2 separate regions of the Homo sapiens genome follow, and region 2 is linked to region 1. The links are contacts of gene promoters, found by promoter capture Hi-C in human tissues and cell types (Jung and others, 2019). All regions are on one chromosome and are shown on one strand. The core of a region is centred on a gene start or on the middle of the fragment in contact, and the rest is flanking DNA. Distances in the headings are between cores, read along the strand shown. Region 1 overlaps SLC43A2 (solute carrier family 43 member 2). Region 2 holds the start of TLCD2 (TLC domain containing 2).

Region 1 (3,892 bases), core at 720-3,219:
CTTCTTCCTCTCCTTTCCTCTCTCCCCCCTTAGAGATCGTGACCCTTCCTGCTTGCCTCCCTGGTGGGCTCTTTCAGGCTGGACACAGGGTTTAAAAAAAAAAAAAAAAAGCAGAAAAAAAGTCATCGTCCCCAGAGAAAGCTTTTAGTGTCTCACCCAGACCAGAGAACTGTTGTGGGCAGGTGTTTTTTTGTGTGTTTTTTTTTTAACCCACCATGATGTCGGAAGGTCAGATTCTAGGTGTTTTTTGTTTGTTTTTTGTTTTTTGTTTTTTTTTAATAGAATGTCCACGGATTTAATTGATTGTATGGTTTTGGCAGAATTGGGTCTGGTCCTTTCATTCCTGCCTCAACCTCAGCTTCCTCCTCTGTCTAAGTGGGAGGAGTCCCAGAGATTGTGCCAGCGCAGTGCTGAGTTGGTGTTTTAAGCCCTGGGCAGACTTGACAGGTAACTCCACTAAACCAAAGTGAAGGTGAAGGGTCAGGATTGTGGGTTGAACATCAACTTCTTATCCCGAACTTTTGCTCCTGCCTCCAATTTTGGTTTTTCTTATTATCTGGCAAACATGCTGAGCCCACGTTCTGGGCGGGAAGGCTGCTGATTCCACACAGCTTATCTCTCTGGTCACACTGCTCCTTGATTCTTGGAGTCTGCATCACCAGTTTTCTTTCAGGCCAGAAATCCCCGCATTTGGCTCGTCTGGGAGTGCCTGGCGAAGTTAGGGTGAAGGTTTCTGCTTCAGTCTAACATTTTCAAACTTGGTGCATGGCTGAATTGCAGAGAAGCAGATAGGCCATTTTTGAATTTATTGAATTAGACTTGTGAAAGCCTGAGCAGTGTCCGGCTGATTGAGATGCAAATTTGTCAGCTTCGTGTCACTCTAGGACGATGCTTTAGTTTGTTCTCTAAAGAAAATTTGCCTGAACCTGTTGAAAGGTTCTTAGAACTCTTTCTTACGACTCCAGCCAGAATCTCGCCACAGACACCGTGTTGGGTTCCAGCCTGGTGAGGTGGCAGAAGGAAGGAAACAGCTCATTTCTCGGCTGCCCCGCAGTTTGTTCTTCCTTGCCTGCTGGGAGACGTGGCAGGCTGGGTTTGGGGACCTGGGTGCGGGAAGTTGGCAATGGGTTTTGCACAACGTCCTCCAGGTGTTGGCTGCTGGATGCCTCCCTCGTCCCCCTGGTGAGGGCAGGAGACCAGTTGGGTTCTCAGCCCGAGAAGCACGGGGCTTCCTGGAGCTGTGTCCTCTTGGCCTCTGGGATGGCAACGTGACGGCCCACTCCTGAGCTCTTTCTTCGTTTTCTCTGTTGTCCAGTGGCCCCCGCTTCAACAGGGTCAGGGTCAGCCTGGGGGGCTGCGGCTACCTGTGGATGGTTTTTTTTTATTTGAGACAGGGTCTCGCTCTGTTGCCCAGTCTGGAATGTAGTGTTGCAATCACAGCTCACTGCGGCCTTGACTCCTGGGCTCAAGCAATCCTCCCGCCTCAGCCTCCCGAGTAGCAGTAGCTGGGACTACAAGTGTGCGCCACCATACTCAGCTAATTTTTGTATTTTTTGTAGAGACAGGGTCTCGCCATGTTGCCTAGGCTGGTCTCAAACTCCTGGGCTCAAGCGATCCTCCTGCCTCAGCCTTCCAAAGTGCTGGGCCTGCAAGCATGAGCCATCAAACCCAGTTAGTTTTTTGTTTTTGTTTTTGGGATTACAGGTGCCCACCACCACGCCCGGCTAATTTTTGTATTTTTTAGTAGAGATGTGGTTTTACCATGTTGGCCTGGCTGGTCTCGAACTCCTGACCTCAGGTGATCCACCCGCCTTGGCCTCCCAAAGCACTGGGATTACAGGTGTGAGCCACCACGCCCGGTCAAATTTTTTGTAGAGATGAGGGTTTCATCACGTTGCTCAGGCTGGTCTCAAAACTCCTGGGCTCAAGTGATCCACCAGCCTCAGCCTCCCAAAGTGCTGGGACTACAGGTGTAAGCCACCATACCCAGTTAATTTTTAAATGTTTTGTAGAGATAGGGGTTTCACCATGTTGCCCAGGCTGGTCTTGAACTCCTGGGCTCAGTCGATCCACCCACCTCGGGCTCCCACATTGCTGGGATTATAGGCGTGAGCCACCGCTCCAGGCCTACATGTGGATCGTTAATCCCCTCTTTCTTGTAACCTAAACATTCAGTAAACATTGACGAAGGTGCCGTGCTGGGTGCAGAGGAAACAAGTCATCACACGCATACCTGTGTAACCCGTATAATTCCAGGGGGTGGTCGGGCCCCCAAGAAAGCAGGGCGCCAGGAGCTAGAACAGCAGCGGAGATGTGGCTCCTGCTGGGTGGGAGGGCCTCTCTGCGGTTCAGGTGGAAGCCTGGAGGTTGAGGAGGGGTGATTCAGGAGAGGAGGGTACACCCTGGAGGAGAGGAGGGTACACCCTGGAGGAGAGGAGGGTACAGCCTGGAGGAGAGGAGGGTACACCCTGGAGGAGAGGAGGGTACAGCCTGGAGGAGAGGAGGGTACAGCCTGGAGGAGAGGAGGGTACAGCCTGGAGGAGAGGAGGGTACAGCCTGGAGGAGAGGAGGGTACAGCCTGGAGGAGAGGAGGATACGCCCTGGAGGAGAGGAGGGTACGCCCTGGAGGAGAGGAGGGTACAGCCTGGAGGAGAGGAGGGTACACCCTGGAGGAGAGGAGAGAAGTGGGAAGGGGCGGGGGCTGCAGGGACTGGGAGGCCATTCGGGGAAACTGAATTTTATTCCCAAGACAGGAGGAAGCCAGGGAGATAGAGGAGGGCGACCATCCAATTCCCCTGTTAGAGGCTTGTGTGAATTGCTGAGGGCTTGCCACATGCTGGTATGTTTGGGTGGCATAGAAACCAGAAGTCATCACGGCCTCTGCCTGAGGAAGTCACCCACAGTCTGACCATGGGCATGAAGGCCGACCCCAGTTGTATGCTCTTGACCTCTGCAGTTTCTCCACCTGTGGTGGTGGGAGAGAGCCTCTCACCCTGGCACAGAGGTCCCTGCGAGCTCGCCCTGGCACAGAGATCGCTGCAAGGGCAGAGGGGCTGCCGCCCACCTTGGGGAAGCAGGCCCAGGCTTGATCCCCACGGGCTGAGTGAAGCTGCAGATGTGGACAGGAGATTTCTCTGCTGCCTCGAGGACCTCTTTTCTTGGGGGATGGGGAGGAGGGAACGGAGTTTCACTCTTGTCGCCCAGGCTGGAGTGCAGTGGCGCAGTCTCGGCTCACTGTAACCTCTGCCTCTCGGGTTAAAGCGATTTTCCTGCCTCAGCCTCCCAAGTAGCTGGGATTACAGGCGCCTGCCACCATACCCGGCTAATTTTTTGTATTTGTATTTGTATTTTATTTTATTTTATTTTTTTGAGATGGAGTTTCACTCTGTCGCCCAGGCTGGAGTACAATGGCATGATCTCAGCTCACCGCAAACTCCATCTCCCGGGTTAAAGTGATTCTCCTGCCTCAGCCTCCCAAATAGCTGGGATTACAGGTGCCCACCACCACACCCGGCTAATTTTTGTATTTTTAGTAGAGACAGGGTTTCACCATGTTGGCCAGGCTGGTCTCAAACTCCTGACCTCAGGTGATCTACCAGCCTTGGCCTCCCAAAGTGCTGGGATTACAGGCGTGAGCCACTGCGCCCAGCTCAAGGGCCTCTCTTTTTAGAGTCTCTCCTCACACCCACAGGCAAGTGTGGATAGTTTTTTTTTTTTTGAGACAGAGTCTTGCTCTGTCGCCCAGGCTGGAGTGCAGTGGCGCGATCTCGGCTCACCGCAACCTCCGCCTCCCGGGTTCACGCCATTCTCCTGCCTCAGCCTCCCCAGTAGCTGGGACTGCAGGCGCCCGCCACCACGCCTGGCTAAATTTTTTTGTATTTTTAGTAGAGAC
Region 2 (4,002 bases), core at 1-2,500, 86 kb before region 1:
AAAAATGTTGAGTGGTTATCTTTGTATGGTGGAACAAAGTCACTGTAATTTTCATCTTTGGTTTTTCTGTAATTTCCAAATTTTCCACATTTTGTATTTCATATAATATAATTTAAGAGATCAGTGTTATTATTTAAACCTTTGGAGAGGTGGGGGTAGAAGAATGAAGGGAAGACCTCAGCTTTTTGGTGAGAAGGTTTGGTTGGGGCACCTCTTGGTTTATGAACTTAATTCTTTGAAGTAGCTGGAATCCTCCCTCTCAGCCTGCAGGAAACAGCTCTGACTTGCTGACTGTCTGCCAGCTGAAGAGGTGGAGTGGAGTAAGGTGGAAGGAAAGCAGTGCAACCTGGGGCTCTTCAGGTGGTGAGGGGCTGGGGGAGGCTCTTCCTCTTAAGGCTGGAGGGTTCTGGAATCCTAACCGCCCTGCTACTAAGAGCAGGACAGGTCTGTTTTTCTCTTCTGACTCTGTCCCAGCCTTGAAGGGACCCTGTGTTACCTTTCCTTGCCCTCGGATTGAAGATATTCTACCCACCCAACGGGTACCAAGCCCTTGGGGAAGGAAGTGCTTTTCAAGACTGGGGGCCAGCGATTCCCTTTTGCGTCCTCTTCCTAATGAGGCTCCTCCGTAGGGCCGAAAACAATGCTGGGGGTCGGGGCGGGGCCCAGTGGGTCGCTTCTCCAACATGGGGTCTCCTGGGGGTTGTGGGGGAGGGGGAGCAGAACTGCTGGAATTACAGGTTTGCCGGGATATGGTAAAGGCGTGGAAACCTCAGGAGGCCGAAGGGGTGGCTCCAAGAAAGTGGGGCACCCCGTCCCCACCACGGACGCGGGGAGGGAAGTGGGGGCGGCGGCCAGGCTCGGGCAGGTACGAGTGGGCTGCGCTAGCCTCTGCCTTGCAGGGTGTGGCGGTGGGTGGTGATGACGCTCAGCAGGTGAAAGTCGCGGGAGCCGGGAAGAGGTCAAGGTTCGTGGGTGGGGCCCGGGAGTGTCAGTTGAGGTTAGACTGGAGACCCAGGTCTGCAACTCCAGCGCTTCAGGACGCTTGGAGCTGGGGAGGACCCCTATTGGCGAACATCCCGGAGGCCCCCCGAGCTCCAGGGCATGGTCTACTGCCCGGAGCCCCCGAACCGCTCCCCCGGCTGGAGCAAGACGCAATCGGTGGCCAAGGCTCCGGGGGCGGCGGCCCCGCGGCTGCTCCAATCACCGCCCAGGCGAGGGACTGGGCGTGGACGAACGGGGAAAAGTTCCTGCTGATCCCAAAGGCGCGGCGGGGAGGGGAGCCGGGGCCCCAGCCCTGCCGGGAAACGGGTTCCCAGTCCCGGCCGAGAGCGCGGGCGCCGAGGGGACCGACCCGGACTCCCCGCAACCCCCCAACCGCCAGGCCATGGCGCCCACGGGGCTCCTGGTGGCCGGCGCCTCCTTCCTCGCGTTCCGGGGGCTGCACTGGGGGTTGCGGCGGCTGCCCACGCCGGAATCGGCCGCTCGGGACCGCTGGCAGTGGTGGAACCTCTGCGTCTCCCTGGCGCACAGCCTGCTCTCGGGGACCGGGGCGCTGCTCGGGTGCGGGCTTGGGGGCTCGAGGCGCACGGGGCGAGGGCGAGGGGTGGGAGGCTGAGGCCGGGAGACCCGCCGGGCGTCTCCAGAGCTGAGACTGGGGTGGGGGTGCGCACAGGGAGACTGCGGCCGGGGCCTCGAGAGGCTGACCATGCCCCCCCCCATGTCCCCACCCCATGCCCCCAGCCTGTCACTGTACCCTCAGATGGCCGCCGACCCCATCCATGGCCACCCGCGCTGGGCTCTGGTGCTGGTGGCTGTGTCTGTGGGTGAGTCTGCAGGGAAGGCTGGGCCGGTGGTGGGGATGGGGCGGGGGGCAGGTTCTGCTGTCCTTCCAGGTCCATTCCCCGCCCCCATGGGGGTTAAACGTTCCTGAAGGCTTTACCAAGGGAAAACTAAGAACTGGGAGAGGGGCGGGGCGGGGGGGCTGGAAATCCTCTCTAAGCTGCCCGGGCTCTGGAGCAGCCTAACCCCTACCCCCATGCCCACAGGTTACTTCCTGGCAGACGGAGCTGACCTGCTGTGGAACCAGACCTTGGGCAAGACCTGGGATCTTCTCTGTCATCATTTGGTGGTGAGACTCTGAGGGCAGAAGCCAGACAGGAAGGGAGGAGGGGAGCCCTGTCCAGCCCGAGGTTCCCAGTCTCTCCTCATTCTTTTTTTTTTTTTTTTTTTTTTTTTTTGAGACGGAGTCTCACTCTGTCACCCAGGCTGGGGTCCAGTGGTTCGGCCTCTGTTCACTGCAACCTTCGCCTCCTGGGTTCAAGCAATTCTCCTGCCTCAGCCTCCCACGTAGCTGGGATTACAGGCACCCGCCACCACGCCCAAGTAATTTTTTGTATTTTTAGTAAAGACGGGGTTTCTCCATGTTGGCCAGGCTGGTCTCGAACTTCTGACCTCAGGTGATCCGCCCACTTCAGCCTTCCAAAGTGCTGGGATTACAAGCATGAGCCACCGCCCCCGGCCCTCTCTTCATTTTGCTGTCCTATAATTTCCCACAGTCTCTGCCCCCAGCTGGTGCTTGGCTCCCAGTCTTAGGCTGAGTTAGGGGGAGGAGGTGGCTGCTGGCCACAGCTGGGGAGTCCAGATACCCACCAGGCCAGGGCACCTACCATGCCAGGGCACTCACCATACAAGGGCACCCACCATGCCAGGGCACCCACCATGTGAGCCTAAGGAGTTTGGGTGCCCCCACAGGTGTCCAGCTGATCACAGAAATGTGGAATATGGAGCTTTTCTGAGAAGGGGGTGTCCTGGTATAGGGTGTGGGTATGGGGCATGAAAGCCCTAGGCCAGGCACGGTGGCTTATGCCTATAATCCCAGCACACTGGGAGGCCGAGGCGGGTGGATCACGAGGTCAGGAGATCGAGACCATCCTGACTAACAGTGAAACCCCGTCTCTACTAAAAATACAAAAATTACCTGGGTGTGGTGGCGCGCACCGGTAGTCCCAGCTACTCTGGAAGCTGAGGCAGGAGAATTGCTTGAACCCAGGAGGCAGAGGTTGCAGTGAGCCAAGATCACACCACTGCACTCCAGCCTGGTGGCAGAGTGAGAGTCTGTCTCGAAAAAAAAAAAAAAAAAAAAAAAAAGCAAGCAAGCCCAGGAATGGGAGGTTAAGGGGGTATTAGGGGGTGAGACAGCCCCTCCCTGGGCCAAGCCTGGTTCCATCTATGGAAGGGTTGTTTCAAGGCTGCTCAGGGCCCCAGGATAAAGGTAAAAGCATAAAGGTCAGGTGTTTGGGGAGCCCCACAGACTGCGTGGAAGCCTCTTTCTTCAGGCCTGGGTTATTGGGACATGATGGCTGGCAGGTCATGGGGTTCCTCTGACCTGTGACCCTGGCTCCCAGGTGGTGAGCTGCCTCAGCACCGCTGTTCTGTCTGGCCACTACGTGGGCTTCTCCATGGTGTCTCTGCTCCTGGAACTGAACTCTGCCTGCTTGCACCTGCGGAAGCTGCTGTTGCTTTCTCGCCAGGCCCCATCCCTGGCCTTCAGCGTGACCAGCTGGGCCTCCTTGGCCACCTTGGCCCTCTTCCGCCTGGTCCCGCTGGGGTGGATGAGTCTGTGGCTGTTCCGGCAGCACCACCAGGTTCCTCTTGCTCTGGTCACCCTGGGTGGAATTGGGCTGGTCACTGTGGGCATCATGAGCATCATATTGGGGATCCGTATTCTGGTCAATGATGTCCTACAGTCTCGACCCCATCCACCCAGCCCTGGCCATGAGAAAACCAGGGGGACCAGGACACGTCGTGACAATGGACCTGTCACCAGCAACAGTTCGACTCTCAGCCTGAAAGACTAGAGAGAAGCCATGGGCCCCTCGCTGGGGGAGGTGGGGCCAGGACAAGGAGATGAGGGTCTTCCATGCACAGTCCCCCATCAGGGTGAGGGCCAGACTTGCTCATCAGAATCTCAGTTTCTCTTCCAGCTAACTCACATCCCTTCCC

Evidence for each region. The method cuts DNA at HindIII sites, captures the fragments that hold promoters and counts their contacts. A contact is called where the count stands out against the background at its distance.
Region 2: the fragment with the promoter of TLCD2 here is called in contact with a fragment that was not itself captured in region 1 in 2 of the 25 tissues and cell types used here (dorsolateral prefrontal cortex and hippocampus).

The regions. Positions count from the first base shown.
Region 1 is chr17:1,622,391-1,626,282 of GRCh38, reverse strand. The region is part of intron 2 of SLC43A2 (solute carrier family 43 member 2); the gene reads left to right. Among named protein-coding and RNA genes, the nearest start is that of SLC43A2, 4.5 kb to the left of the region's middle. The HindIII fragment of the contact is 4,391 bases long and covers 1-3,892 here.
Region 2 is chr17:1,707,625-1,711,626 of GRCh38, reverse strand. It overlaps TLCD2 (TLC domain containing 2), which reads left to right and starts at 1,250. Exons shown (of 4, transcript NM_001164407.2): 1 at 1,250-1,560; 2 at 1,741-1,823; 3 at 2,046-2,128; 4 at 3,405-4,002. The coding sequence starts at 1,385. The coding sequence ends at 3,857. It overlaps MIR22HG (MIR22 host gene), which reads left to right. Exons shown (of 3, transcript NR_028505.2): 3 at 1-123. The HindIII fragment of the contact is 13,317 bases long and covers 1-4,002 here.